5 separate regions of the Homo sapiens genome follow, and regions 2, 3, 4 and 5 are each linked to region 1. The links are contacts of gene promoters, found by promoter capture Hi-C in human tissues and cell types (Jung and others, 2019). All regions are on one chromosome and are shown on one strand. The core of a region is centred on a gene start or on the middle of the fragment in contact, and the rest is flanking DNA. Distances in the headings are between cores, read along the strand shown. Region 1 holds the start of TMC6 (transmembrane channel like 6). Region 2 overlaps SEC14L1 (SEC14 like lipid binding 1). Region 3 overlaps C1QTNF1-AS1 (C1QTNF1 antisense RNA 1). Region 4 overlaps SEPTIN9 (septin 9). Region 5 overlaps SEPTIN9 (septin 9).

Region 1 (4,072 bases), core at 785-3,284:
CTCTCCGTGGGGGGTGGAACATTCCAGCCTCCAGCCCCCAGCCCCAGAGCGCTTACCCCTGGTCCCCTGGGGTCTCAGGGACATCGAGGATGAAGGCCAGTGGCTGGGCCATGTCTCTGGCCAATGCCCGCTAGTCTGCAGACCTAGGGTAGCTCAGAGCCTGGGCGCCACCTCCGGAGCCCCCATCTGATGAGACAGGGGCACAGAGCCAGGGGTGGTCTTCAACGCCTGGCAGCTGTCCACACCACCCATTCCTGGGGGAACCACAGGAGGTGCCACTCACAGCCCAGACAGTCCCGCCCACCCCCCTATCACCCCAGGTACATAAATGGTGAGGCACCGAATAAGCCTCATGCCAGAATGGAATGGGGGGCCCCCTCCAGTGTCAGGGGAGGGGAGAGAGGAAGGAAGGGTGTGGGGTCTGCAGTTCCACATCTGTTTCCTCGATGTCGCCAGTCCCTGGGAAATGGGGAAGAGGTAGGGTGCCTGTAGACACAGCCCCTTTCAGGATCTCCATGCCCAGGGTTCTGGCACAGAGACACCTCCTTTTTGGAGAGAAAGGTCAGAGTAGGCTGTAGGCCTTCTCTGCGTCTGCCCTGTGACCTCAAAGAACTTCCTCTAGCAGGAAATTAGCTGCTGGAGCCCTCACCCCCAACCAGCCCCAGGCGGAAGCAGCACAGGGGGCTCCTCCCCCACACACAGAGGTCACTCCATGCCACCGCCGTCAGGGCGCCAAGGTCCTCATGTTCTCAGAAGACCCACTGCCCTGCATTCCATCATCCCAGGGCGGCCGGCTGGGGGTGGCCAGGACCTCAACAGGCCTCCTTTGTCCTGGCTCTGCCGTCACCCGGCACAACTGGAACCAGAGCAGCCTTGTCTGGGGCCCTGGGCTCGGGGCCCGTTCATCTGTGAGAGTGGAGCCAGGACTCAGCTCCCAGCCACCAGCGAGTCCTGCCGGCCTCTGCCCTGGACTCCTCCTGCGCTCACCCTCAGGAACTCAGGGCTCAAAGTCGGCCGGGTTGAAGGGCGCTTTCCTCGGACAGGCAAAGCCCGGGGGCGCCCCGACAGAGCAGCTCCTTGCAGGGGTGCCAGTCACAGGACCGGACGGCGCCCTCCCTCAGTGTCCTGGGTGCCATCTTCGGGCCCAGGCCCCACACCACCCCCTCCCTCCAGCAGGAGCAAAGACGTGGGAAAACCAGCCCAGAGCTGGGTCCGAGGCGGCCCCACCCAGCCTAACACGGGACAGCTGCCGAAAGAGGGGCTGAGGACGCCCCACCCAGTCCCTAGAGCTGGAATCCCTTCCTCCAGACAGGCCCTTCTAAGCTCAGGGAACCCGGGGACTCGGGCACCCAGCGCCCCAGCACTCCGCCCCGAGGCCCAGGCAAGTCCAGCGGAGTTTCCAGGCGCACCATTCCTGAGCTAGGTGGGGAGAGGCTGGGTGGCGCCCGTTTCCAGGAACCCCCACCCCAGCCGGCAGCGAGCTTCCCGGGAGCAGCCGCTACCCAGGGAGAACCGCAACCTGGCCCCAGAGCCCAGAGCGGCTGCAACTCTGGGGCCACCGAACCCGTCCAGCCGGCCTCCCTGTCCCCCGCCCCTTCCCATCCCGGCCACACCCCCTCCCCTCCCCTCCCCGTGCCCTGGCGCTCGGCTGGGGGACCTGGGTGGGGGCTGCGGATTTTGCTCCCCGCACTGTCCTCCCCGCCCCTGCCGCTCCCAGCTCTGTCCGAGCCGGAGGGTCAAGCCCTGGGAGCTCCAGGAGCACCCGGGGAGGGAACTCGGCTGCCAAATGGCCCCAGAGGCCGAAAGGAATTCAGGGGGGATTGCCGCTGTCCCCGCATAGGAGAAGCAGCTGGGGCTGGCGGGACCCGGGACCGGGATCGCGGCCGCTCACCTGGGAGGCGCCGGGGAGGAGGGGCCGCGCGCGCAGCCAGGGCTCACCTGTGCCCCGCAAGAGCCGCCGGGAACTGAGGTCTCGGCTCTCCTTGCCAAGGGAGTGGCAAAGGGCCCCAGGGGCGACTGGGCCAGTCGCAGGTCTGCCGGGGCCGGGGGAGTAGCCGCACCTCCCGGCCCACGTGGGCGGGGGGGGGGGGGGCGGGCCTCGGCTATCACGTGACCCGGCCCGGCCCGCGGCGCCCCCGCCCTCCTCCGGGCGCCCCGCGGCGACTATGCCTTCCTCCCCTGCCAACTTCCGACCCCTCCTCCTGAGGTCTGAGCTGGGCTGGATTCATTCCAGCCCCTGGTTGAAGTCCCCAATTTTTCTGACGCTCAGTTTCCCCAAGTTCCAAAAAGGGGCAATATTTCCAGACTCATCTGCTTCCCATGGTTAGGGATCGTCCAAGTAAGATGCCGCCGAAAGCCCCAGGGACACAGAGTATCTCACTCCAGATTGGGCAGCGCCCCCCCCCCCGCCGCCCCCGCAAGCCTCCTGCTGACTCTCCCCGACCCCGGCGGGGGGAGCCTGGTTATCTCCCACTCCTGACACCTGGGCGGGGTTCATTGTTTATCTAGCAAGAGTTCTGGCTCACTTCCTGTGTGCTGTGTGGAGAGGAGGGGATGAAAAGGAGGACACGCTGACACTTAGGTGACTGTCCCCAGGTGCTGTACCCGTTGCCCTGTTTTCTGTTATTCCCCATGAGCCAGGAAGGTATGCACTGATATTCCCATTTCACAGATGAGGAAACTGAGGCTGAGAGAAGTTAATCACCCTTTAGGGTGCCCCCAGCCAAAGCAGGAGACTTAGTGGTCCACCTGGGAACTCTATGGAGGAAACTGCCTTTGAGATTGTACCCCCCACCCCAAGCCCATTTGGAAGGGAGGGTCATTCCTGGCGGGGAGAAGCCATGAAGCAGGCAGGGTGAATGTGAGCTGGGGCCCAGGAGGGCAGGAGAGGGCACTGCTGCAGGGGAGAGCAGGCAAGCAAAAGCGAGGACCAGGCAGGGGTCAAGGCTGGGGCCTTTTGGAGCTGCCAGTGTGGTCCTCAGATGGCTACCCCAAGCTGGTTCTTGGCAAGTGGCACCCTGGCATGGAGACCCAGCCCCTGCCTCTCCTCCCACTGCTTCCCCCTCCCTGCATACCCACACTGAATTTGCATGAATGCCACCTCCTCTGGGGAGCCTCCCCAGATTGAACCCTGGTGGAGCACCTACCACTTCCTATTGACATGTACATCTGTGGTTCTGTGCCCCCTCCTACCCCAGCCCACTGTGTGCCCAGCACCAGCACATAGCTTGCGCCTGACACACAGAAAGGACTCTGGAAACCAGGAAGGAGGTGGGCAGAGAGGCAGAAAAGCTATGAACATTCAGACCTGAGATGACTGGGCCCTATAGCAGGTAGAGAGGGAGCAGAGAGGAAGGGCTGCGGGCTTCCCAGGGGCCCAAGGACAGAGAATTGGCAAAGATATGTCTTAAACATCTAGCCTGGGAGAGCATGAATGGAGCCAATTCCTGAGCACTTACTACCGGCCAGGTGCTAGGCCTGGGTCTTGGCACAACCATAACGCCAATGACAGGGGCTGGAAGTACAGCAGTAACACCAAGAGTATCTGGAAACCCAGCAGCCAGGTTCTGGGGAGCCCACCATCCTGTCATTATCACACCCTCCAGGGTGAGGCCGGCAGATAAAGAGTTTGGCCCCTGTGCCCCCACCGTTCCCATCCCCACCCATGTCAGGCTCCCAGCTCAGGCCTCGAGGTCAAGTCCTGCCTATCCAGGCTGGAAGGAGTTGAACAGAGAGGGCCTCAGCTGCAGGCTGGACATCCCTGGAGGCAGCCAGGCGGCAGACCCGGACCAGTGGACCCTAGGGCTGCAGGAGACCAGGCCCTGACTCCTGTGCAGAGGGGAAGGGTGGGCCACCCGCAGCCCAGCATGCACAGAGCTCCCTGGGAGGCCAAGTGGCCTACGCCTGTCACCTTCACCTCTGCATCTCAGGGGCCCACAGGAAGTGCCTGCTTGGCCTCAGTTTAAAGCAGAGGAAACCATGGGGTGAGAGGGGAGGAGGGAGGTAGTGGAGAGGGAAGCTGGGTTTCCTGTCATATGACCCCTCCTCTGGGCTCCCTCACCACCCTGCCTGG
Region 2 (4,144 bases), core at 487-2,986, 970 kb before region 1:
TCCAGGCATCCCTGGCAGCCTTCCTTCCTCACCCCTCAGTCTTGCTGGTGCCCAGATGGGAGCTGGCAGAGATGTCTCCTGGATGGGCGCTCACTTTGCTCTTCTGTAGCCTTGGTGGCTTAGCCCCAGACCACTCCTCCTTACAACAGCCTCTGGACCCTGAGTCTACCCCTCACTCTTCTGCTCGTCCTTGGGGCTGCTGCCAGAGAGATCGGTACATTGTAAACTTGACTGTGCTGCCTGCAAGTTTCAAATGATGAAGTGCCTGCACCTCATCTTTATTTATTTATTTATTTAATTTTTTTGAGACAGAATCTCGCTCTGTTGCCCAGGCTAGAATGCAGTGGTGCCATCTCGGCTCACTGCAGCCTCCGCCTCTCTCCTGCCTCAGCCTCAGCTGGGATTACAGGCGTGAGCCACTTCGCCCAGTCCACGTACCTCATCTTTAAGATGAGGTTCCCAGCTTAAGCTTGGCTCCCAGAATCCTTTGTCATTGGCCTTCTGCCTGTCCTGCAGCCTCCTCTCCATGGCGAGGCCTCCACACCCACTGCACAGTCTAATTATGTCGAATTTCTTGCTGTTTCCTAGGTATACCATTTTTTGTCATGATCTTGGTGCCTTGACCACATACTTGCCTGGAATACCTTTCCTGCTTTCTCACCTGGCTGACTCTAGCTGGCTGCATGCAGTTGCTCCTGGTGGAGGTTCCTCTCTGTGCACTGGCAGCCGCTGTAGGGTCCTGACACTCCACTGGTCTCTCTGCCTCTCTCTGTCACCTTCCCTGCAACTGCCAGTGTTCCCAGGGTGAGAATCAAATCCTCATGCCCTCAAAAATAGATTTCTCGGCCAGGCACGGTGGCTCACACTTGTAATCCCAGCACTTTGGGAAGCTGAGGCAGGCGGATCACTTGAGGTCAGGAGTTTGAGACCAGCCTGGCCAACATAGTGAAACCCCATCTCTATTAAAAATACAAAAATTAGCTGGGCGTGGTGGCGTACATCTGTAATCCTAGCTACTGGGGAGGCTGAGGCACGAGAATTGCTTGAACCCAGGAGGCTGAGGTTGCAGTGAGCTGGGATCACACCACTGCACTCCAGACTGGGCAGCAGAGCGAGACTCCGTCTTAAAAAAAAAAAAAAAAGATGTCTATGAAGAGTAGAGGGTCTTGCAGTGTATGCTTTCGTTTCTTGCATCACTTCTTCTCTGTCAGTGAAATTTTGTTTTTTGTTTTTTTTTTACTCTAATCCCATGACATAATGAAAATTTTGACAAAAGGTTACATTGGAACATAGTCGTTTGGTCGGCTGTATTTACTATTTATGGTTCAAAAGAATCTGATGCAAATCATGTTTTGTGAGTAAAATAGTTCAGTGAACTGAAGCTTATAATCCCTCTAGTTGCCTGAAAAGCGTGTCCTGGTTTATGTGTCACTTAGTGTTTTGAGTGGCTTTTCTCCTGTAGTGATGAATACAAAGTATATACAAAATCCTATTTCTTTGGTTCTCCTACAGAACATAAATTTATTTTAAGTAAAATTCTTGACTCTGGTGGAATGGTAATCTGACTTTAAGATTTCTCCAAATTTAAAACCCAAGAGTTATTACATAATTCTTGTTTTCTTAATAAATAAGTTATTCCATAGCATGAGGTAGGCCTAATCACAAAATGTGTGTGTTTCTTTTCTTTTTCCTAGTTTAATGCTTGTGTATGTATTAAAAATCAAGGCCCAGAACTAAAAGCTACAGGGTACATATTTTAAGAAGTAAATTGATTTAAGTGGTCATTGGTATGTTGCAGGATTTATGGCATTAATATTTAGAAAGCTCTTCTCCAAACACGTATTATCTTCATTTGAATTTTCTCACACAAAGTTGGTTTATAATGTAAATTCGAAGAGTTCCAAATCCTAATTCTTCACTGAGTCAGAATTTCTGGAGGTGAGTCCCGCAGTCTGTGGCTTCACAAGGCTTCCAGGTGATTCTTAACGCCTGCTCAAGCTGGAGAACCCCTGGTGTGGATTTGCATCATTTGAATTTGTAGTACATGGGATAGGAAGAAAGGAGGGTGGTTTCTATTATAACTTTTTTTTTTTTTTTGAGATGGGGCCTCGCTGCGTTGCCCAGGCTGGAGTGCAGTGGCATGATCTCGGCTCACTGCAGCCTCCACCTCCCAGGTTCAAGCGATTCTTCTGCCTCAGCCTCCTGAGTAGCTGGGATTACAGGCATGCGCCACCATCCCCGGCTAATTTTTGTATTTTTAGTAGAGACGGGGTTTCACCATGTTGGTCAGGCTGGTCCCAAACTCCTGACCTCGTGATGCGTCTGCCTTGGCCTCCCAAAGTATTGGGATTACAGGCATGAGCCACCATGCCTGGCCATAACTTTTATTTAAAAGTTTTTCAAACGAATGGTTTTTTTCAACAGGCTGTATAAATAGGCTCTTATTACATCATGTTTTCATGTGACGGATTTAACATACACTAGAAGGAGACTGTTTGCTTTATGTACTTCTCCAAATTGCTGTTCTTGAGTTTATTTAGTGATGTCCACGTTATATTAACAAGCATGTGGGCTGGGCATGAGCCACCGTGCCTGGCCATAACTTCTATTTTTGTATTTTTAGTAGAGATGGGGTTTCACCATATTGGCCAGACTGGTCTCGAACTCCTGACCTCATGATCCACCCACCTTGGCCTTCCAAAGTGCTGGGATTACAGGCGTGAGCCATCGTGCCCGGCCTGTAACCACTTTTAAGTGCAGAGTTCAGTGGCACTAACTAAATTCACATCGTTGTGCAGCCACCACCACCATCCATCTCCAGAACTTTCTCATCTCCCCAAATCGAAGCTCTGTCCCCATGAAACACTCATTCCCCATTCTTCCTTTCCCCAGCCCCTGGCAGCCACCATTCTTTCTGTCCCTATAAATTTGACTACTCTCGGTACCTCTTATGGGTAGAATGACACTTGACCTTTTGCGTAACTTGGTAGTTACTTGACCTTTTGTGTAACTGGGTTTTTTCACTTAGCCTAATGTCTTCAAGGTTCACCCATGTTGTAGCTTTAGTTTTTGGGTAGTACTTGACCTTTTGTGTAACTGGGTTTTTTCACTTAGCCTAATGTCTTCAAGGTTCATCCATGTTGTAGCATGTGCAGAATTCCCTTCCTCTTCAGGGGTGAATTGTACTCAATTGTATATGCCACATTCTGAATTGAATTGTACTCAATTGTATCTGCCACATTCTGCTCATCCATTGACTTACCGATGGACGTTGGGTTGTTTCTACCTTTTGGCTGTTGTCTGTACTATACATTTTTAAAGTTTCAATTACATTTTATAGCTTTCTTTCCTTTTTTTTTTTTTTTTTTTTTTTTTTTTTTTTTGAGACAGTCTCACTCTGTTGCCTAGGCTGGAGTGCAGTGGCACGATCTCGACTCACTGCAACCTCCACCTCTGGGGCTCAAGCAATTCTCGTGCCTCCCAAGTAGCTGGGATTACAAATGTGCACCACCACGCCCGGCTAATTTTTGTAATTTTAATAAAAACAGGGTTTCACCATGTTGGCCAGGCTGGTCTAGGACGCCTGGCTTCGTGTGATCCACCCAACTGTAGTATTTTTTTTGTTTTGTTGTTTCTGAAATAAACTTTCACTCTGTCACCCAGGCTGGAGTGCAGGGGCACAATTTTGGCTCACTGCAGCCTCCACCTCCTGGGTCAAGCAATTCTCCTGCCTCAGCCTCCCAAGTAGCTGGGATTACAGGTGTGAGCCACCACCACCTGGCTAATTTTTGCATTTTTAGTAGAGATGGGGGTTCGCCCTCTTGGCCAGGCTGGTCTCGAACTTCTGACCTCAGGCGATGGGCCTGTCTGGGCCTCCCAAAGTGCTGGGGTTACAGGCATGAGCCACCACACCCGGCCTCTTTTCTTCTTCTTCTTTTTTTTTTTTTTTTGAGACAGAGTCTCGCTCTGTTGCCCAGGCTGGAGTGCAGTGGTGCGATCTCAGCTCACTGCAACCTCTGTCTCCCAGGTTCAAGCGATTCTTCTCTCTCAGCCTCCCAAGTAGCTGGGACTACAGGTGCCCACCACCAAGCCTAGCTAATTTTTGTATTTTTAGTAGGGATGGGGTTTCACCATATTGGCCACA
Region 3 (4,144 bases), core at 737-3,236, 890 kb after region 1:
CCATCAAAGCCATTTTTTTGTAAAAAGAGCCTATATGGTGAATAATTATTCTTACTGCACTTCATGCAAATGATCATGCCAAGTATAATAAGACTAAGGTTTATTTTTCAAACAAATAAGTCCTACCATTATTTGTTTTTAATAAAAATGGGGACTGGAGAGAGAAAAATTAGGTTTCAAAAACTATGGTACACCTGTTATTAGATTCTAGTCTCATTCATTGTTTTTTTTTTTTTTTTCTGCAGTCTAGACTGACCCTGCTTATTTCTGTGAACCAACCAGTGATCTCTGGCCATGGCTCAGAACAAATAATAGGGATGGGTAACATAAGAAATATCTGGATCAGTATTCTAATTCAGGGCACATATTGGAATCTGTTAGCAACCCCATATCAGCTTAGTTCCAACAGTTGCCCAGTTGATGGAATGCCTTATTTAATTTATTTGGGATAAAGTATTAATCCATTCTCACACTGCTATAGAGAAATACCCAAGACTGGGTAACTTATAAAGCAACAAGATTTAATGGCTCACGGTTCTGCAGGCTGTACAGGAAGCATGGCAGCATCTGCTTCTGGGGAGGCCTCAGGGAGCTTTTAGTCATGGCCTAAGGCAAAGGGGGAGAGGCCTCTTACATGACAGGAGCAGGAGAAAGAGAGAGAGCGAGGAGGTACCATACACTTTTAAACAACCAGATCTCACGAGAACTCACCCACTATCATGACCAAGGGGGATGGGGCCAAACCATTCATGAGAAACTGCCCCAGTGATCCAGTCACCTCCCATCAGGCCCTACCTCCAACTTTGGGGACTATAATCGGACATGAGATTTGGTGGGGACACAGATGCAAACCATATCAGATAATTTTACTTATTTTGCTTTACTATTGTGGAATATATTCCTGTTGTACTCGTTGTGTAGGAATGCAGAATAAGCTTACTCGCCGTTTTCTTAAATTGAACATTTGCCAGTCTTCCAGATATCACCTTTTGTTGGAACTCAGAGTTATGAATGGCCGTCAGTATGCTGATGCTTTCTGACTGAGTTCCTCTCTACCCTGAATACAAAAGACCTTAATAGTTAGATGAGAATATCATTACTCCTATTTAGCCTGAAGAAGCTACAGAAGGGGAATCTTCCTACCTCTACAACCCTTAGGATTAGTGGTCCTCTTGTAAAAAGGAGGGGGGAAATATGTCAGAGGCATTGGAAGCAGAGCAACTTTAACTTGAATAGGGGCTGGGTAAAATGATGCTGAGACCTGCTGGGCCACATTCCTGGGAGGTTAAGGCATTTTAACCTCCCGGGATCTGAGATGAGATAGGAGGTCACAAGATACAGGCCACAATGACCCTGCTCATATAACAGGATGCAGTATAAAGGCTGGCCAAAACCTGCCAAAACCAAGATGGCAACAAAAGTGACCTCTAGTTGTCCCAACTGCTCATTATATGCTAATTATAATACATTAGCATGCTAAAAAAACACTCCCACCAGCACCGTGGCAGTTTACAAAGGCCATGGGAACGTCTGGAAGTTACCCTGTATGGCCTATGACGGGGAGAAACCCTCAATTACAAGAAATTCTTGCCCCTTTCCCAGAAAGCTCATGAATAATCCACCCCTTGTTTAGCATATGATCAAGACATAACCATAAAAATAGCCAACCAGCAGCCTTTGGGGGTGCTCTGCCTATGGAATAGCCATTTTTCTTTTCTTTTCTTTCTTTTTTTTTTTTTTTTTTTTGGCACAGTGTTGCTCTATTGCCCAGGTTGGAGTGCAATGGCGCAATCTTGGCTCTCTGCAACCTCCATCTCCCACGTTCAAGTGATTCTCATGCCACAGCCTTCTGAGTAGCTGGGATTACAGGCATGCTACTTGAACAGGGGCTGGGTAAAATAAGGCTGAGACCTGCTGGGCTGTATTCCTGGGAGGTTAGGCAGGAATAGGGGTAAATAGGGGTAATTATATTTTTAGTAGAGATGGGGGTTCACCATGTTGGCCAGGGTGGTCTTGAACTGATCTCAGGTGGTCTGCCTGTCTCGGCCTTCTGAAGTGTTGGCATTACAGGCATGAGCCACTGCGTCCGGCCTCCTTTACTCTCTTGATAAACTTGCTTGTATTTTACCCTGTGGACTTATCCCAAATTCTTTCTTGCTCAAGATCAAAGAACCCTCTCTTGGGGTCTGGTTTGGGACCCTTTCCAGTAACAGCTCCACAGACATCATCAGATGGCTTAATTTTGCCAATCTGATGGTAATCAGTGTCTTCTCCTTGCCTGATTACTGTGAGGTTGTATATCTTTTCTTACACTTTTTGGCTGTTTACGTTTCTTTTTCTGTGGATTCCCCATCATCTTGTGTGTTTTTAGGAATTGATCCATCCCATCCCCATTGATATACGTGCAATGCCAATTTTGTCATAGATCAAGTTTTCATACACACATGGGTCTTTGTCGGGTGGGCCTTCTATCATGTTGAACTAATATACTTGATCACATCTGTTCCAATACCAGTATCTTCATTATTATGTCTTTATAATAAGCCTTCCTATGATGTAGGACAAGTCCCCTCCTACCTCACCCACCTTCAACCTTCTGGGATTTTGAATGGAATTGCTTGGAATCTATAGCTTAATTGAGCGAGAACTGAGTTTTTTTTTTTTTTTAATGATATTGAGTCTTCTATCTAAGACCACGCTTTGCTTTTCCATTTCTTTGGATTTTCTTTAGTGCTTTTCAGTAAGGGTTTGTAATTTTCACTTCACAATATAGCTTGGAGATTGTTCCAGATCACATATAGAGAGCTGTTTATTCTCTAAAGAGCTACACGGTGTTCCACTGTGTGGAATTTATTTTACCAGGCCCCTAATGATGTCCTTTGAGGGTATCTGTGCTTTTTTTATACTACGGCAATGCTTCAGAGGATATCCTTGAACTTACTTATTTGAGCACCCTTCTAAGTTTATCTGTAGGAGAAACTCCTAGAAGAAAGATTAGGGGGTCAAAGGGTATTTGCATTCTGTGAGCGAACACACCCTCCCTTCCAGAGAGGCTGTACCATAAAATCACTTTCCTTAAGGTCAACAAATACAATCAGGCTTTCATTGGATTTTCATTCTCCTTGTCTTCTTTGCATCCTCAGAGACTTCACCATAGACTCCTTTTGGAAATTCTCTTTAGTTTCTGTGGCTCTGCATAAAGGACAAGACATTCTTTATTGAATCATTCATTCATATGTTGACATGCATTTACTCACTCATTTCATAGTTAAGTGCTTGGAACTGGGGAGTCCACCAGGGGGCCCTCCCATCTTATTTATCAAGTAAAATATTGCCTAGTCGATCAGTATATGCCTGTCTCCATGTAACTGAAAACATTCATTGCCAAAACAGGAGAGTAAATATTCAGAGGTGAGGAAACTGAGGCATAGGGAAATTAAATGGCTTGATAGAGTTGCAAGGCACACGTGTACATGGCCTCAGGGGAGACTTCTGTGGAAAGGCATGGCTTCCTGGAAGAGGGAACGCCCTTACCCTCCTGGTTTTCTGCAGGTGTGAGGACCATAAAGAAACCTATTCACCTGGTGTGTCCTTGCAGCTGCCAGTCCTGATCTCCACCTGTCCCAAGCTGCTCAGAACGTGGCAGCGCCATCCAGGAGCCACGAGCATGGGCCAGTGGCCAGGGAGGCTGGATCTGTCTGCCAAGTTTCCACTTTTCCATCTTAGCAGCTTCTCCGAAGCTCTGTGGAGACTCTCCCCACTCCCACCCCTTGGCAGTGGGACGTCACCATCGGAGCCGGCCGGTCGCTACCCTTGGGAACAGAATTCAAAGTTTGCAATACCAATCTCTGCCCTTGTGGGATGACTGGGCAGCCCGACCCAAAATAGCTGGGAAAGGCGGGATGTTAGGGCCGCGGTGGGAAAACTCACAGTGCTGCTAATGACATGCTGTGCTTATCTGGAACCGAGTGTCTTGCAGACTTTAACTGAGATCACATTGCTTTTTCCAGCAATAAGTAAACAGACCCAGCGAGTGGTGGTGACAGGCCCAGGGAGAGAGAAAGAATTACCAAATCAGGGAGGGCACAGAACGTGCTGCCTTCCCTGCCAGGGGTTCCAGGAAATATTTCTTCCCATTCTAGGA
Region 4 (4,144 bases), core at 1,520-4,019, 750 kb before region 1:
CCGATAGGCCCAGGTGCTGGAGTTCAGACAAGACATACCCTGGCCTGGCGTGGAAGATACGGGGTGCTATTAATGGCAGCAATGGCTGCATTTCTGAAACCCGGGCTCCCAGGCCGACGAGGGTGTGCACGCATCTGAAATGTCTGTGGTTTTGCAGTTCCCATGTCCACAAACTCACTTGGTTGAAAATAGTTCAAAATATCCAAAGCATGAGGGAGGGAGTGCCTGCTTTTCTTAAAAAGGAAGGACTTGATTTCATCTACTTAAAAAGCCACCCAAACCTAGAACATTTTCCGCAAGAGACCCCCTGCCCCCCGCCTCTCCAGAATGGCTGGAGAGTCTCAGCACTCCTGCACATTTGGGATATTTCAGAGGGGGTGGGGAGGGGCAAGTGGGCAGCGAGCGACCTCAGACCCAGGATGAGCTGTCAGGCGCTCCCCGGCCACACATTCAAGGGACCGGAGTGCAGTTGTAGCGTTGCGGCCTGCTGCTTCGGGGGTGGGGGTGTTGTTCCATGCTGTGAATTCTCACATGGCCCCTGACTCTGGGCAGAGGCCGAGGGTCTAAGGGACGGGGTGACAGGGAGAGCATGCAGGAGTGGGTTTCTGGCTTTCCAGGGCGAGTGGAAGAAGCGCCTCTCTCTCTTGTAGGTGACAGACCTGGGGGGCCCTTCTTGAGGATGAGAGCCTGTTGCTTCTCAAGTTCTGTGTCTAACCCAGGTCCCCAGGTCTACCCCAGCCCCTCGGCCCTGCCTGCCTTGTGGATGATATAGTTTAAGGGTAGAGACCGCTGGCCTGGAGGGAAGGCTAGGCCTCAGGTTAGGGCCCAGAAGGGAGGGAGAAGCCCTTGGGGCAGCTCCCTTTCTGCTCACTCACTGCCTAGCTCCTTCCTTCACACCTTCCTTCGGAAACGTCTGCTCCTGACAAGGTCTACTTCCTGCTCTCAGGAGGCCCTTATTGTGGAGGAAGGGAGGCGTCGCCCGTCCCTGGCTTCTCTGACAGCCGTGTTCCATCCCCGCCCTGTGCCCCTTCTCCCGGACAGTGCCTTCTCCAGGGCTCACCCAGGAGGGTGCAGCGGTGGCCCCCGGGGCGGTGGTCGTGGTGGGGGTGTTAGCTGCAGGGGTGCCCTCGGTGGGTGGGAGTTGGTGGCCTCTCGCTGGTGCCATGGGACTCGCATGTTCGCCCTGCGCCCCTCGGCTCTTGAGCCCACAGGCCGGGATCCTGCCTGCCAGCCGCGTGCGCTGCCGTTTAACCCTTGCAGGCGCAGAGCGCGCGGCGGCGGTGACAGAGAACTTTGTTTGGCTGCCCAAATACAGCCTCCTGCAGAAGGACCCTGCGCCCGGGGAAGGGGAGGAATCTCTTCCCCTCTGGGCGCCCGCCCTCCTCGCCATGGCCCGGCCTCCACATCCGCCCACATCTGGCCGCAGCGGGGCGCCCGGGGGGAGGGGCTGAGGCCGCGTCTCTCGCCGTCCCCTGGGCGCGGGCCAGGCGGGGAGGAGGGGGGCGCTCCGGTCGTGTGCCCAGGACTGTCCCCCAGCGGCCACTCGGGCCCCAGCCCCCCAGGCCTGGCCTTGACAGGCGGGCGGAGCAGCCAGTGCGAGACAGGGAGGCCGGTGCGGGTGCGGGAACCTGATCCGCCCGGGAGGCGGGGGCGGGGCGGGGGCGCAGCGCGCGGGGAGGGGCCGGCGCCCGCCTTCCTCCCCCATTCATTCAGCTGAGCCAGGGGGCCTAGGGGCTCCTCCGGCGGCTAGCTCTGCACTGCAGGAGCGCGGGCGCGGCGCCCCAGCCAGCGCGCAGGGCCCGGGCCCCGCCGGGGGCGCTTCCTCGCCGCTGCCCTCCGCGCGACCCGCTGCCCACCAGCCATCATGTCGGACCCCGCGGTCAACGCGCAGCTGGATGGGATCATTTCGGACTTCGAAGGTGGGTGCTGGGCTGGCTGCTGCGGCCGCGGACGTGCTGGAGAGGACCCTGCGGGTGGGCCTGGCGCGGGACGGGGGTGCGCTGAGGGGAGACGGGAGTGCGCTGAGGGGAGACGGGACCCCTAATCCAGGCGCCCTCCCGCTGAGAGCGCCGCGCGCCCCCGGCCCCGTGCCCGCGCCGCCTACGTGGGGGACCCTGTTAGGGGCACCCGCGTAGACCCTGCGCGCCCTCACAGGACCCTGTGCTCGTTCTGCGCACTGCCGCCTGGGTTTCCTTCCTTTTATTGTTGTTTGTGTTTGCCAAGCGACAGCGACCTCCTCGAGGGCTCGCGAGGCTGCCTCGGAACTCTCCAGGACGCACAGTTTCACTCTGGGAAATCCATCGGTCCCCTCCCTTTGGCTCTCCCCGGCGGCTCTCGGGCCCCGCTTGGACCCGGCAACGGGATAGGGAGGTCGTTCCTCACCTCCGACTGAGTGGACAGCCGCGTCCTGCTCGGGTGGACAGCCCTCCCCTCCCCCACGCCAGTTTCGGGGCCGCCAAGTTGTGCAGCCCGTGGGCCGGGAGCACCGAACGGACACAGCCCAGGTCGTGGCAGGGTCTAGAGTGGGATGTCCCATGGCCCCCATCCAGGCCTGGGGATATCCTCATCCGCCTCCCAGAATCGGGCCGTGGGGGACAGAAGGGGCCTGCGTGCGGGCAGGGAGAGTATTTTGGCTCTCTCCTGTCTTCGGGGTTTACAAAGTGTGTTGGGACTTGCGGGGCTGCTCTGTCCAAGCCTGGGTCTGGCGTCCGCGTCTCTGAGCCTGTGAGTGCGTGCGCTTTCCTGCGTCCTCTTGACTGCCGGTGCTGGGGCTCTGCGTCCTGCGTCCGCGGGAGTAAATACAGCAGGCGAAGGGGAAGCTCACACAATGGTCTCCAGCGCTCTGGGGCAGGGCTTCTGAGGGGCGGGCCTGCCTCTGCCGGGACCTGGAGCCCCCGCCCCTCGGAGAGGCTCCTAGGCTGACTTGGGCAGAGCCCTCTGGTGGGCCGGGAGGGGGAAAGGCTGTGTTGAAATGAGCAAACTGTCCAGGTGTCAGGCCAAGCTGGGAGGTGACCAGCCTGAGGTCCTCCCCGCTCCATGGCCAGAACCAGGGCTGACATCTGGGTGTCCTGAGCCCAGCTGCCCACACGGCCCACCTGGGGTCAGCCCTATCTGAGTGGGGGAGGCGGGGCCTCCTGGGGGACCAGAACTTTGGCTGGACGCCAAGCAGAGTGCCAGTGGCTGTTCTTCAGGGCTGGGCCTGAGGAGGGTGTGGGGCGGCGAAGGGACGGGAGGGGGTTGTGATCCAGTGGCCACTGGCGCTGTGCAGAGTGTGAGCTGGAAACATCGTAGTTACTTTGTCAGCTTAGTGGTGAAAGCCCTTTTTCAGGCTCTATCCCTTTGCATCCCTGCTTCCCAGAGGGAGGGGAGGTCTGGGTCTGCAGAGCTGGGAGGGCTTGCTGTTCCCGCCCCCCTCCCCCACAACACCTCCTCATCTGGACATCTTTGGGCACATGCTCATACTGGGGTCTCCCTAGGTCCACTGTGTTCCGTTGAGCCTCCTGCAGTCCCCGAGTGAATGTGACCTCCCTGCCCCTGCCTCTTTGCAACTCCTCCCTGCGACCGCTCCTCCAGGGGCCTTCCTTGTCCCAAATGTCCAAGTGGCACGACTTAGCCGGTCTGACCACTTTCCAGTAAGCCCTTATGGAGAGAGGCCCTGTGTTGTGCAGAGCTCTCCTCCTGCCTGCGGGATCGAGGTCTCTGCTCTCAGTTCCTAACAGAAAGTGTCGGGCCCCCAGTGGGATTTCTGGGGAAGAACTCTCGTGTCTCAACGGGAGCCCTGTGGCGGGAGGGGAGGCCAGGGTTTGGGGTTGTGTTCGTTGTACAGCTGTCACCATTTGCACTATGAAAGTTGTTAGTGCCCCTTCCTTGGGTCTCTGGGTGTAACTCCACCCTTGCCCCCATGTGCCTCCATCTGGAGCTGCTTCTGCGGCTGTCTCCCAAGCCAGTTTTGTGACCCTGTAATTTAGTCCAAGACAATGGGCTCATTGAGACCATCCTGGTGCAGCAGTTGGCAATCCTTTGGCTCTGGGGGAAGGTTTCTCAGTCTCGGGGAGTGGGGCCTCAATCTGCTGGTTCCCTGTGTTTATCAGTCTCCCCCTTGTGTGTCCTGAATGGTTTTGCTGGGAATTCTGGTCTTAGAGCC
Region 5 (4,144 bases), core at 1,043-3,542, 670 kb before region 1:
ATTTGTCAATGCATTCATTTGGGTTCAGTAGTTGGACCATGGGCAGAAGCACTCCAGATTTGTCACTTTCCCTAAGCTAAGGGTGGGGAACACCCTCTGTGAGATCTTGGCTCCTGAGCGCCCAAGACTGCTCTTGGAACCCCAACTCTGGGTCGGTCTCAGGGGACTGACGTTGATGGAGTTGCTGACATTGACCTCCGGCCTCTGCATGGCCTTCAGGAAGGGGGCCCTTCGCTCTCTGTCCCGTCGAGCCTGGCTGGCAGCACTCCCTTCTCAGGCCTGTGCCCCCGGCAGGGCCTGCTGCCCCCGCCCTGCTCTGTGGGTGCCAGGCTCCAAGCACCAGGTGACTCGGTCACTGAATGGTCACTGAACAGTCATCCTTGCTGGTGTCCCCAGTGGAATGTGCATGGACGTCCTCCCTCCCCCAGATCCTTGTCTTTTATCTCTCAGCCTTTGTTCCAGGGGCCACCACAGGACCAGGAGGTACGCAGACGTGGGTGGCACATCCACTGGGCAGATTCAGCCCTGAACCTGCACGCCCCCTCCAAGGGGGCCCCCAGCGGGCGGGGTTGATGGTGCCGTCTCTCTCTCTGTCACTAGAACGGACATGAGGATTGTGTCTTGTCGATCCACGTCCTGAGTTCCCAGACGTCATAGGTGCTTGCTCAACGAGTGTTTGAATGAATGGTCAGCATTGTGTGACCGCAGATTTTCAACTTTTATCCAAATAGTTTGTGGTTTCTGTGAGGCTATCCCGAGACAGTCTCACAAGAATCTCCATTCTCCCTGCACGCTCCGCACAAGGTCTCCTTGGGGGGTTTTTCAGAAAAAGGGCCAAAGAGCAGCATTTCCTCGGGGATTTGAACACGATCTCCCCCGGGGCAGGGGACTGCCCTGGAAGATTCCCGGCACCGCTTCCCATGCGCCACGTGACTAGGAGGGTCTTGGGGCAGGATGGTGTCTTTTGTGCCTTGTGTGCTGGGGCCGGAGGAAACACTGCCCGTGGCCGGTGTCATCTGCCAGCCCTGAAGACTAATGATGGGCTGGACAGTGGCCCCATTGAGTGGGAGGGAGAATCGCTGCTGTCTGTAGCTGGGGGGCCGGGTGGGTGGGAGCCGAGGCCAGGGAGAACAGCGCAGACCTGGCACGGAGAGGCCTGGAGGAGGAGCAGGGGGTCTCAGCCACCCAGGGTGCAGGGACGCCACACGAGGAGCAGGTGTGGTGTGCGTCCTCCTGCGGGTTCTCCACCTCTTGGCTTCGTTACCTGCACTAGGCTTTGTGGTGAGAGGGCACAGAGTGGAGGAAGGTGCCGTGGCTAGGGCAGGCCACACGCTGTGCTAATGGATTGCTGTTACCTGTCGCCTCTGTGGTTTTGCTGTCAGGATCCTCCAGCACCAGGTCCCCACCACCAGGTATGGGCCCCACAGGCACTACTGGCTCCCCGAAGCCAGGGACAGACCCCATAGACAATACTGAGTCCCTGCAGCCAGGGATGGGCCCCCACGGCCAGTACCAGATCTCAGGGACCAGCACCGGGTACCCACAGCCAGGGACAGGCCTCCATGGCCAGTACCAGGTCTCAGGGACCAGCACCGGGTACCCACAGCCAGGGACGGGCCCCCATGGCCAGTACCAGATCTCAGGGACCAGCACCGGGTACCCACAGCCAGGGACGGGTCCCCATGGCCAGTACCAGGTCTCAGGGACCAGCGCTGGGTCCCCACAGCCAAGGACAAGTCCCCACGGCCAATACCAGATCCCAGTGACCAGCACTAGATGTCCACAGCCAGAGATGGGCCCCTATGGCCAGTACCAGGTCTCAGGGACCAGCGCTGGGACCCTGGATGACTGAAGGAGGGCACGGTTGACTAAAGCTGCAGGAGCCAGCCTGGCCATCCTGAGGCACTAAGCCATCACTGCGGTCTCAGGGGACTCAGACTCCTCTACTTGTCTTCTTGAATTCTGGAATCAGACACACCTGGGTCCAGCCTTTGCCCCCGGGGCTGTGTGCCTGGGATGGTTGCCTCACCTCCCTGAAGCTCAGTGAGATGGGGACGGCTGCACAGGGCCCGGCACAGATGGCACCCGATGGCACAGGGTCACCTGCTTGCATCCATACAGCCTCGGCCCTCGCTCTGGCTGCGTACCGAGAGTCCCATGCCCAGACCTCTGCTGAGTCTCCAAGCTCCTGGTCATGCCTCAGGCCTCCCGTGAGAAGCATCACTGCATGGACCATGCCTCGGGACCTCACCTTGGGCTGGGAAGCTTGCTCCATCTCCCCAAGTCTCCCCTAGAGGCGCCCCATGTCCCATCACTCTCACTGCTTGAGGGGTCAGATAGGGGAACCCAGTGTGGGAGGCCCAGAGGTGCCGGAGCAGACGTTAAGCGAGTTCCGTGTTTATGCGCTGGGCCTTGGCAGACACCCTGAATGAGCCTCTTCCCCAGGAAGGAGATTGGGGTCCCAGTCCAAGTTGTGGCCTCAAACCCTGTGACCAAGAGTGGAGAAAAGGCAAGACCCCTCCTCCCAGTCTTCCAGAACAGCCGATAGTGGTGGAAACATGGGGTTCACACTGAATTTCCTTGTAACTTGTTGAAGAGAATTTAGCCCACATTTTCAGGGGTGGAGGTCTGGCCGATTTGGCAGTGTGCCCGTCCCCCTGGCCACAGTTTACTCTGGACCGGGCACCCTGGTGCCCTCCCTCAGTGACGCAGTGAAGTCACTATGACGTGTTTAGTTGGTGAGAAAGTGCCTCCTGTAATGTTTTACTCTTCTTAGAGGGTGAATAAGCCTTGTTTATTATAAATAATTATTTACAGAATACATGAGGTTTAACCTAACTCTGGGCCACGGCAGCGTCCCCTGGGTAAACCCACGCGCCACCCTAGCTAGAGCCTGTGCCCCCACAGGCTTCCTGGACTCACCCTGAAGGGGGGCTGGATTTTCTGCCTGTCCCGATGAGAGGGCTGCAGGACAGTCCCCAGCGAGCCCTTCTGAGGGCTGTAACCTCTTCCCCTGGTATTTTCCTGCTCGCCAGGAATGTTTCAAGCTTCCAGCAGAAGCCTACCCACCATAGTCGCTTTCCACCCTGCTCACCATCCCTCCTGCCCTCACTCATTCAGCAGACCCCGTGCACAGCCCAGTGCAGGACTCAGGGTGGGAAGGTGTCCCGGGTGGGCTGGAGCAAGGTTCCCAGCCAGGGCGGGGTCCCAAGGTGGGTCCACAGCCAGGACTGTGATTTGGGAGGCCCCTCCCTGCCTTGTTCCAGCCCCGGCACCGCCGCTGTCCTTGTGCTCAGTGGAGACTCACTGGCTCCAGGCTCTAAAACCTCAGCGAGGTCTGCAGACAGGGAGGAGCCCCACTCGAGGGTAGAGTGACTGCCGGGTCCATTTGCCTGTTACGAACCACGTGGCCTCAGACCTGCCATTCCTCCTCTCCTAGAGCTATGGTCTTTTGTCTGAAAAATGGATAATGATGGTTACCATGTCAGGGACCATTTTGAGGACAAACGGGGATGAAACTGAAGAGGCTCAGCACGGAACCTGGACACAGAAGTGCTAATTGTGTGTTACCAGCTGCGGTGGCTGCCAAGGCCCAACCACATGGCAGCCACGGGCTGAGTGGCGGGCGGGAAGTGGGGAGCAGGAGCATGCAAGATGGGCATTCCTGAAGTTTCTGATCCAGTGAGATAAGTACACACCCAGCTCTAAGATGGAGTGTCCCAGGAAGGTGGAGACTGCAAAGGCCTTGTGGCGCAGGAGTGTGAGCTGCACCTCTGGGCTCTCTAGAATTTCACCAGAGCTCAGGGAGGAGGTCAGCTCAGATATAGGGGCAACGGGAGAGATGGGAGTGAGAAAATGGCTTGGCGTCTGGAAGTGGAGCCTGGAAAGGTGGGCGTGGGGACAGAGGAGGGCCTTGGGGGCCATGGGCCCATGCGTCCAGGAGGTGGAGGCAGTGAACGGGGCCACGGTCGGCCCCACACGTGGCACCACCAGCCCTGCTGAGCCTGCACCTGCTCCTCAGGCCCCCTGAGTGCCACTACCACCTGGCACCCCTTGGTCTGATTCCTGCTTCCTGCCCGCCTGGGAAGAGTGAGACCACTTGCCTAAAGTCCCTTAGCTGTCCTTAACCATTCTGGCTGCCTCC

The links. The method cuts DNA at HindIII sites, captures the fragments that hold promoters and counts their contacts. A contact is called where the count stands out against the background at its distance.
Region 2: a contact is called between a fragment that was not itself captured here and the fragment with the promoter of TMC6 in region 1, in 1 of the 25 tissues and cell types used here (spleen).
Region 3: a fragment that was not itself captured here is called in contact with the fragment with the promoter of TMC6 in region 1 in 1 of the 25 tissues and cell types used here (spleen).
Region 4: a contact is called between a fragment that was not itself captured here and the fragment with the promoter of TMC6 in region 1, in 1 of the 25 tissues and cell types used here (spleen).
Region 5: a fragment that was not itself captured here is called in contact with the fragment with the promoter of TMC6 in region 1 in 1 of the 25 tissues and cell types used here (dorsolateral prefrontal cortex).

The regions. Positions count from the first base shown.
Region 1 is chr17:78,126,721-78,130,792 of GRCh38, forward strand. TMC6 (transmembrane channel like 6) reads right to left here and starts at 2,035. Exons shown (of 20, transcript NM_001127198.5): 1 at 1,892-2,035; 2 at 57-186. The coding sequence starts at 112. It overlaps TMC8 (transmembrane channel like 8), which reads left to right and starts at 4,051. Exons shown (of 16, transcript NM_152468.5): 1 at 4,051-4,072. RefSeq lists silencers at 149-198, 249-328, 1,599-2,128 and an enhancer at 669-918. The HindIII fragment of the contact is 22,186 bases long and covers 1-4,072 here.
Region 2 is chr17:77,155,449-77,159,592 of GRCh38, forward strand. All of the region lies in intron 3 of SEC14L1 (SEC14 like lipid binding 1), which reads left to right. Among named protein-coding and RNA genes, the nearest start is that of SEC14L1, 17 kb to the left of the region's middle. The HindIII fragment of the contact is 5,418 bases long and covers 1-4,144 here.
Region 3 is chr17:79,016,425-79,020,568 of GRCh38, forward strand. It overlaps C1QTNF1-AS1 (C1QTNF1 antisense RNA 1), which reads right to left. Exons shown (of 3, transcript NR_040019.1): 2 at 3,582-3,812; 3 at 2,785-3,192. Among named protein-coding and RNA genes, the nearest start is that of C1QTNF1, 5.7 kb to the right of the region's middle. The HindIII fragment of the contact is 6,860 bases long and covers 1-4,144 here.
Region 4 is chr17:77,371,634-77,375,777 of GRCh38, forward strand. All of the region lies in intron 2 of SEPTIN9 (septin 9), which reads left to right. Among named protein-coding and RNA genes, the nearest start is that of MIR4316, 23 kb to the right of the region's middle. RefSeq lists a silencer at 1,316-1,815 and an enhancer at 4,004-4,144. The HindIII fragment of the contact is 8,820 bases long and covers 1-4,144 here.
Region 5 is chr17:77,455,095-77,459,238 of GRCh38, forward strand. The region is part of intron 3 of SEPTIN9 (septin 9); the gene reads left to right. LOC105371903 (a long non-coding RNA gene) reads right to left here. Exons shown (of 3, transcript XR_934990.3): 3 at 1,444-4,144. Among named protein-coding and RNA genes, the nearest start is that of MIR4316, 60 kb to the left of the region's middle. RefSeq lists enhancers at 1-184, 185-1,091, 1,741-2,354, 2,355-2,969, 2,394-2,473. The HindIII fragment of the contact is 3,011 bases long and covers 788-3,798 here.